2 separate regions of the Homo sapiens genome follow, and region 2 is linked to region 1. Evidence: promoter capture Hi-C in 16 types of primary human blood cells and fetal thymus (Javierre and others, 2016). All regions are on one chromosome and are shown on one strand. The core of a region is centred on a gene start or on the middle of the fragment in contact, and the rest is flanking DNA. Distances in the headings are between cores, read along the strand shown.

Evidence for each region. Contacts are between HindIII fragments. The CHiCAGO score rates a contact against its expected background, and 5 or more counts as called.
Region 2: a fragment that was not itself captured here is called in contact with the fragment with the promoter of CDC7 in region 1 in 1 of 17 cell types (activated CD4 T cells); the score reaches 5.2 in activated CD4 T cells.

What each region holds. Positions count from the first base shown.
Region 1 is chr1:91,499,379-91,502,679 of GRCh38, forward strand. CDC7 (cell division cycle 7) reads left to right here and starts at 1,473. Exons shown (of 12, transcript NM_003503.4): 1 at 1,473-1,570; 2 at 2,276-2,453. The coding sequence starts at 2,339. LOC105378856 (a long non-coding RNA gene) reads right to left here and starts at 1,470. Exons shown (of 3, transcript XR_947599.4): 1 at 1-1,470. RefSeq lists an enhancer at 2,115-2,314. The HindIII fragment of the contact is 5,865 bases long and covers 1-2,771 here.
Region 2 is chr1:92,604,901-92,608,446 of GRCh38, forward strand. It overlaps EVI5 (ecotropic viral integration site 5), which reads right to left. Exons shown (of 20, transcript NM_001350197.2): 17 at 2,681-2,827; 18 at 407-502. Among named protein-coding and RNA genes, the nearest start is that of GFI1, 120 kb to the left of the region's middle. The HindIII fragment of the contact is 823 bases long and covers 931-1,753 here.

The DNA of each region.
Region 1 (3,301 bases), core at 223-2,722:
TGTTCACATATGATTATAGAGTGATCTTACTTTTGTCTTGATCTATCACGGTCACAACTCTGTCTTGTCTGATGTTCTGTGAAATTGTTTATGTTCAACAGAAGAATACCAATGCTTGGCTGTGATTGCCAGGCCAGCTCAAAGCAACAGCAAACCAAGCTGGTAGTACCAGGCCATCTCCTGGATGTCAAGGTCTGCTTTTCTCTTTCTCGGTATCCACACTAGAATCCTTGATTTACTCTCTTCCACCTCACTCAATCAAAAACCATTACCTCACAGACTTCCCTTCTATGTGGCACTACCACCCACACATATGCTAGCCCAAAACCTAAGATTCACTGTTGATGATGCCCTTTTCTTCATTTTCCATAGCCAATCACCAAATCCCATTGTCTTCTTTCTTTTATTTCTTCCGCCATTGTTCTGGTCCAAACTACCATTATGTTTCTCCTAAACATAAAGTGCATCCTATTTCCTCTGCTTCCACACTTGCCCCTCTACAATCCATTCTCTTCATAACAGATAGATCATATTACTCCCTTGCTTTAAAACTTTCAAATAGCTTCCAATTGTACTCAGAACAAACACTAAACTTCTTACCCTGGCTTTCAAGGACCCTGGTCTGGCTTCTGCCTAACTCTCCACCTTCATCTATCTGGGACTATCTTGCGGCTCACTCACTATGCTTCCCCCACACTGGCCTTTCCTGCCCTGCCCCTGCAACATACCAAGTTCCTCTTTCTCTCTGCATTTGCCCTATCCTTTCTTTGCCAGGACAACAGTCTCCCTACCAGCTCTTTCTCATCCAGGTCTCTTTGAGAGGGCTTCCCTGACCATCTAGATGCCACCTTCCTGGTCAGTATTTCCCTCAAGTAGTAATCAATGCCGGAAAGAATACTGTTCATTTATTCATCCGTTATTGTCATCGCTTCATTGGAATTTAGCTTCCTACAGGGATGGTGTTTATCTTGCTCACTATGATTCCAGCCCCTAGAAAAACCCACCTACCTCATAGCCAAGGGCTCAGTAAATAGTATACACTGCCTTCCTGCCACTGTGCTAATTTCTACTAACACAGCCACAAACAATCAGCAATTACATTTTCTGCTTGTTTTTAACGGGGAAGTAGGGCACTCAACGAAAAGGAAATAAAAGCAGAGTCAAGAAAGTGCCTTTTATCCATGGAGTGCCCAATGTGTTGTGCGGCCGGCCACGTATATAGGGATGTGTCAGCACCTGAGATTTTTCCTTCTCTGAGCTAGCTTCTTTCCTGGAAATCATGCTGGGCCCTTAGCCTTATGGTTCACCCTGTTTTTTAAGATCATCCACGGGCTTCATTCCCGTAACCGCTCTTCTAGCTGGCCAAGGCGGCGGGAAGAAACCCCACCCTCTTGCGCAAACGCCCAGTAGCGGAATCCGCGGGGTCGAGGGCTTTAGTGTGCGCATGTGCAACCAGAGCGGCGGCGGGAAGTGTTGCGCAGGCGCATCCGATCGACTCGGTAGGTGGGGATCTCTTGGAGACGGCGACCCAGGCATCTGGGGAGCCACAGAAGTCGTACTCCCTTAAACCGTGAGTTTCCGACGGTTTGTTCCATGGCGCGGGATTGTGAGGGATTAGGAACGAATTCTGGATCGTGACTTCGGTTTTCTCGCCGTGCAGTTCCTTTTCCCGCCCCCCTTCGGATCCCTCCGACCTGCGGCGGGAAAGTCGCGCGCCTGCGCACTAAGCATCTGGTTCGGTCTCTGGCCCGAGGGAAGCCGGTCCTTCCCGGCTGAGCTCGCGGCCAGCGCTGGCCGGCGGATTCCCATTCATTCACCCTTCTCCTCCTCCGCCCAGTACTCGTGGCCAGGGTCGTATCAGTTCTCCGTCAACTTGCTTGGGGCCTTGGACGAGCCTCCTGGCGCTTCCTGTCAGTGGCGAAAAGGTTTTCTCCCTCAGTTCTTTTCCTGACTTCAAACCGCCCCCGGCGCTCGGCCCCTCCCCCACGCGGTCCCGCTGGCTGTGCCGGACTGGCAGCCTCGCCGTTTCCCACTGCGCCTGCTGCTGCGCGGGTGCCCAAGCCGGGAAATTCTCCCTGCAGCCCCCTGCCGGTGTTTCTGATAGGTGAAAATAAAGCACATGGAATTCCTTAGACAAGGCCACAGTATGCCCTACTGTGGAGGTTTGGACACATCGTGCGTTTGAAAATGTTTGCCCCTTTGGGGGGCAGTAGCATGTTTTTAGTGCGTGGTTTAGCGAGTGATCTAAATTTCTCTAGTGTTCTAATTTTCACAGCTGCTTTGCTCCCCCTGTGGATGTAACCCCTTAGCTGGCATTTTGCATCTCAATTGGCTTGTGATGGAGGCGTCTTTGGGGATTCAGATGGATGAGCCAATGGCTTTTTCTCCCCAGCGTGACCGGTTTCAGGCTGAAGGCTCTTTAAAAAAAAACGAGCAGAATTTTAAACTTGCAGGTACGTGTTTAAATCCAAAGATGTACAGTTATAAAGATTTTTCAGGCAACAATTCTGTGTTTTCAATTCCTCTCAAAAAATAAGATTGAATCTTATAAAGTGAATTGTATGTTTCTATAGGACAGTGTTAAAACAGAGCTTCGTATGATCTAAATGTAGGACTGAATTGCGATTTGGAAGACTGTAATACAACCTGTTTTACGGTTGAAGTTGCTATGGTCTCAGTATTGGTAATTAAGAATGCAGAAATTTGATGATGCCCAAATTAAATTTCTCTTTTGTATCTGTGTTCTTATCTCTACTCACCACATTGCCTTAAGCTTAAATGTAGAAATTGACACTGGAGATCATCACTTAAGTATTCAAAAGCAGAACTCACAGACAAAAAAATATGAAATGTTTGTAGCAATAATAAAGCACCATATCTCAGTGTACAGCATGAAATGTTCTTTGACCGTAAACCAGACCTTAGGGTGAATAAGACAGGGTCAAGCAGTGCCTGCTCTTGTACACTCGCATGTGTACCTTCATTTCTGCTCTGGCACAGGACCTGGGACATAGTAGGTATTTGTTAATAATAAATATTTGTTAAATAGAGGAATTCTAGTTGACTGTATTTTTTTTTTTCTGAAAGGGTAGCCAGATCATCTTTCCCATCTTTGTCTTAAGTGAATTCTGTGCTTGTCTAAAAGATACTTATTTTGACCTTTTGTCCATATATTCTTTATAACCCCACCCTAGAAAAATATGACATCACATACTTTCTGCTTTGATGGAAGTCAGTTATCCCACTTACCTAAACTTGAAACTTTAATCTTCAGCTGATGCTTTTTATTTGTTCCCCATAT
Region 2 (3,546 bases), core at 92-2,591, 1.1 Mb after region 1:
ATATGACTGTATTGTATGATCCCACTTATATGAGGTAACCAGAGTGGTCAAACTCATAGAGACAAAGTAGAATGGTGGTTTCCAGTTGCTGGTGGTTGCCAGTTGCTGGGGAATGGGAAGTTAGTGTTTAATGGGCAAAGAGGTTCAGTTAGGGAGGATGAAAAAGTTCTGGATATGGATGGTGGTGATGGCTGCACAACAGTGTCAAATATACTTAATGCTGCAGAACTGTATACTTTAAAATGGTAAGTTTTATGTCTATTTTACCACAATAAAAAAAAATTGGAAATGAATGATTACTGAAAAAAGAATCACAGTCACGAGGATAAAGAGTAAGTTACTGTTCAGACAAAGAGGATAGAAGAAACTATATTTTTACATGTACTTTATTATTTTCATATGGTACCTGGATTTCAAGCTCAGCAATGTGTTGTCGTAGTTCAGCCACAGCAGCTATGCTATCTGCTTCCCGAAGCCTCACAGCCATCACTTCTTCCTTATTCTAGTGTGGTAAACCAAACCGAAACAAAATAAACCAGGTGTGTTTGGAATTCAGATTTTAGAAAAGTAATAGGTTGCATAAACCATACGTTAAGTATTATCTAGCAGGGTCTAAGGCAGCATCCATAATGAAACAATATGCTCAATACATACAACGAAGCAGTGAGATATAAATGTTCACATCAAGTGGAATAAATAACAATTATAAATGGCCATATATCAATTCAAATTAAGTTTTGCCTCCAAAGGAATTTGTGTGAAATTTATGAAAAAACTCCAGGGTTTTAGAGTGTTTTGCATTTTGAAACTGGGGTTCACAGGCTTGTAATATTTCAACTTTAAGTGAGAACATTCAAATTAAGTTGAGAGGGAAAATAACATTAATATTATAAACAATATCCACACATTTTACACAACTAAAAATAAAAAAGCTTTAATAATTATAAATTAATCATAAGCTATAATATTATAATACTAAATGAAAATGAATCAGATTTACATAATTCACGGACTGGCTTTCTTGAAAAATTAACTTTGTTCCCGAATTATTCCAACATAACAGGGTAAAACATACACATTTAATCAGAATGTACTAGGTGCTAGGGTAACAATACATTGGTCATTCTCAAAACCTGCAAAGGCATCACGAAAGATTGAATAAATTAACACACAGCTTAAACACAGGGGAGATATCAGAGTTTGCATCTGTAACATACTTCACAGAGGTATTAATGAACAATTAAAAATTAAATAAAATCCCATATTAGTTCATAAAATCCTCTAATATTCTAAATCTGAGCCCATTACTTAGACAAGTTCAAAGAAAATTATTATTTTCAACAGCAAGTTCCTCAAAGATTTATTTCCAAAGAACACTTTACTTTGCTCAACAGGTACTAAGGCATTTGAGGAGCAATATTTAATCTAGTAACACCATTATCAAAATATGTTTAAGGAAAACTAACACCAATAATAAATAAAAGATTAAATTTAGTTATCTATAAGATGTCAACACAGACAATTTAGCATCATAAAAACTCAATCAGATATTGGTATGACAAATCAGACTGATACAACCTCATTTAATATTATTTTATTTATAGTTTAGTCATATCCTTCAAAAGTGACTGTGCTTTTAGTAGGAATTTCAGTACTGCCTACAGATTTCTGTCAGTATACATTGTAACAGCCATGCATATTTATAAGGATGTAATTTCATCTCTGGATTTCAGTGACACTGATAAACCATTCAAGCTTCACTCTTGGTTTTTAATGTCACCAGAATAAGCTGATGGAATTACAGCTTTACATGTGCCATCAAAAGTCTTATTTCTTATACAATAATAAGGCTGGAATCTTTAAAGGGCATCATTCCTACTATCTCACCATGGAAAGGTGGATGCCTAGTTTATTTTTTTAAATCCCATAACTTGCCTTTAGTAATCCATTCTAATGCCCAGTCTACAGTCATCTCTTTAGTTATTTCACACACACACACACACACACACACACACACACACACCCCCCCAAACCCTCCCTCCTCTCCTTCCATCTCACTGCCTTTCCCCCACTCTCTCACCACTGCTATATTGTAAATTTATTTCAGGAAAGAATGTACTTGCATTCAAATACTTTTGATGCTTTTTGAATCCAAACACTTCACAAAAAAGTAAAGTATATAACTGATTAAAATAATAATGGGTAATATACCCATTTTTCCCAACACACTGGTACATACACATTTCTTTTGCTCTCTAGTCTATCCAGAAAACATGTATCAATGTTATTAACATTACTGCCCACTAATAAGATACCAATCAAAGCAGAGGAGCCCTAACCTCTCTAAATGACCCATCTTTTTTGATCAAGCCATTAAAAGCTCTGGTTTTAAAGGGTTACCAGTCAAAAGAAAAACTGTAAAGAAATACTAGTAAATGCCAATCCAGGAAATTAAATTAACCAAGGAAGTGACTGAAAATGTTTCTTGACTAAAATCCACCCCAGAAGCAAGATGAGCTGACCTGGTCTGAAAGCAACTACCAAAACAAGTTCAGGAAAAGTAGAAAATAGGACGAGCTTTTTTGTTTTGTTTTTAAGATAATCTAATCACGATAAAACAAACAAAAAAAAGGCATTATTATATTGACAAAAAACAAAATCAGTTAGTTGACATATTTACCTTGCATTCAATCTCTGCTTGTTTACGCTTTGCTTCACTTAATTGAGTAAGGAGTCCTTTGTTCTGTGCAGAAAGATACTGCACTTTCTCCTGTAGGCTAATCACCTCTTGTTCTGCTCTTCGAAGATGGTTACTATTGATCTGGTTCTAATAATCAGAAATATAAATACTGAGACTATAGATACAAGACCTAAAAATTAAAAAAAATTACCTATCCATTTTATACCATAACATTATTAAAAATGTTACTAGTTATAGGTCACTGTTATTCAACAAAATCAACATTAAAAAATAAGATAAAACTGCCTTTAAAATCAAGTCATTCAAGGCTGAGGCGGGCGGATCACAAGGTCAGGAGATCAAGACCATCCCGGCTAACGCGGTGAAACCCCGTCTCTACTAAAATTACAAAAAAAAAAAATTAGCCAGGCATGGTGGCGGGCACCTGTAGTCCCAGGTACTCGGGAGGCTGAAGCTGGAGAATGGCGTGAACCCAGGAGGTGGAGCCTGCAGTGAGCGGAGACTGAGCCACTGCACTCCAGCCTGGGCGACAGAGCGAGACTCCGTCTCAAAAAAAAAAAATTAAAAATAAATAAATAAATAAATAAAATCAAGTCATCCAAAGGAATGCATACTGTCAATATTAGAGACTCTCAATATAGCTCAATATACCATTTATACAAAAAATAGGTGTAAACTATAAAAATTCTTATACACAACTTGAAGGTATTCCTTTCTAAGATTGGCAATGGGAGTACAAAATGGATAGATACAGGAATGGTGAGTTTAATTCCTCTTTCCAGTTCCAGAAAGAAAGCACAAACCAGTCAAAAGGTACCATCATGGCCAGTGCAGTGGCTCATGTC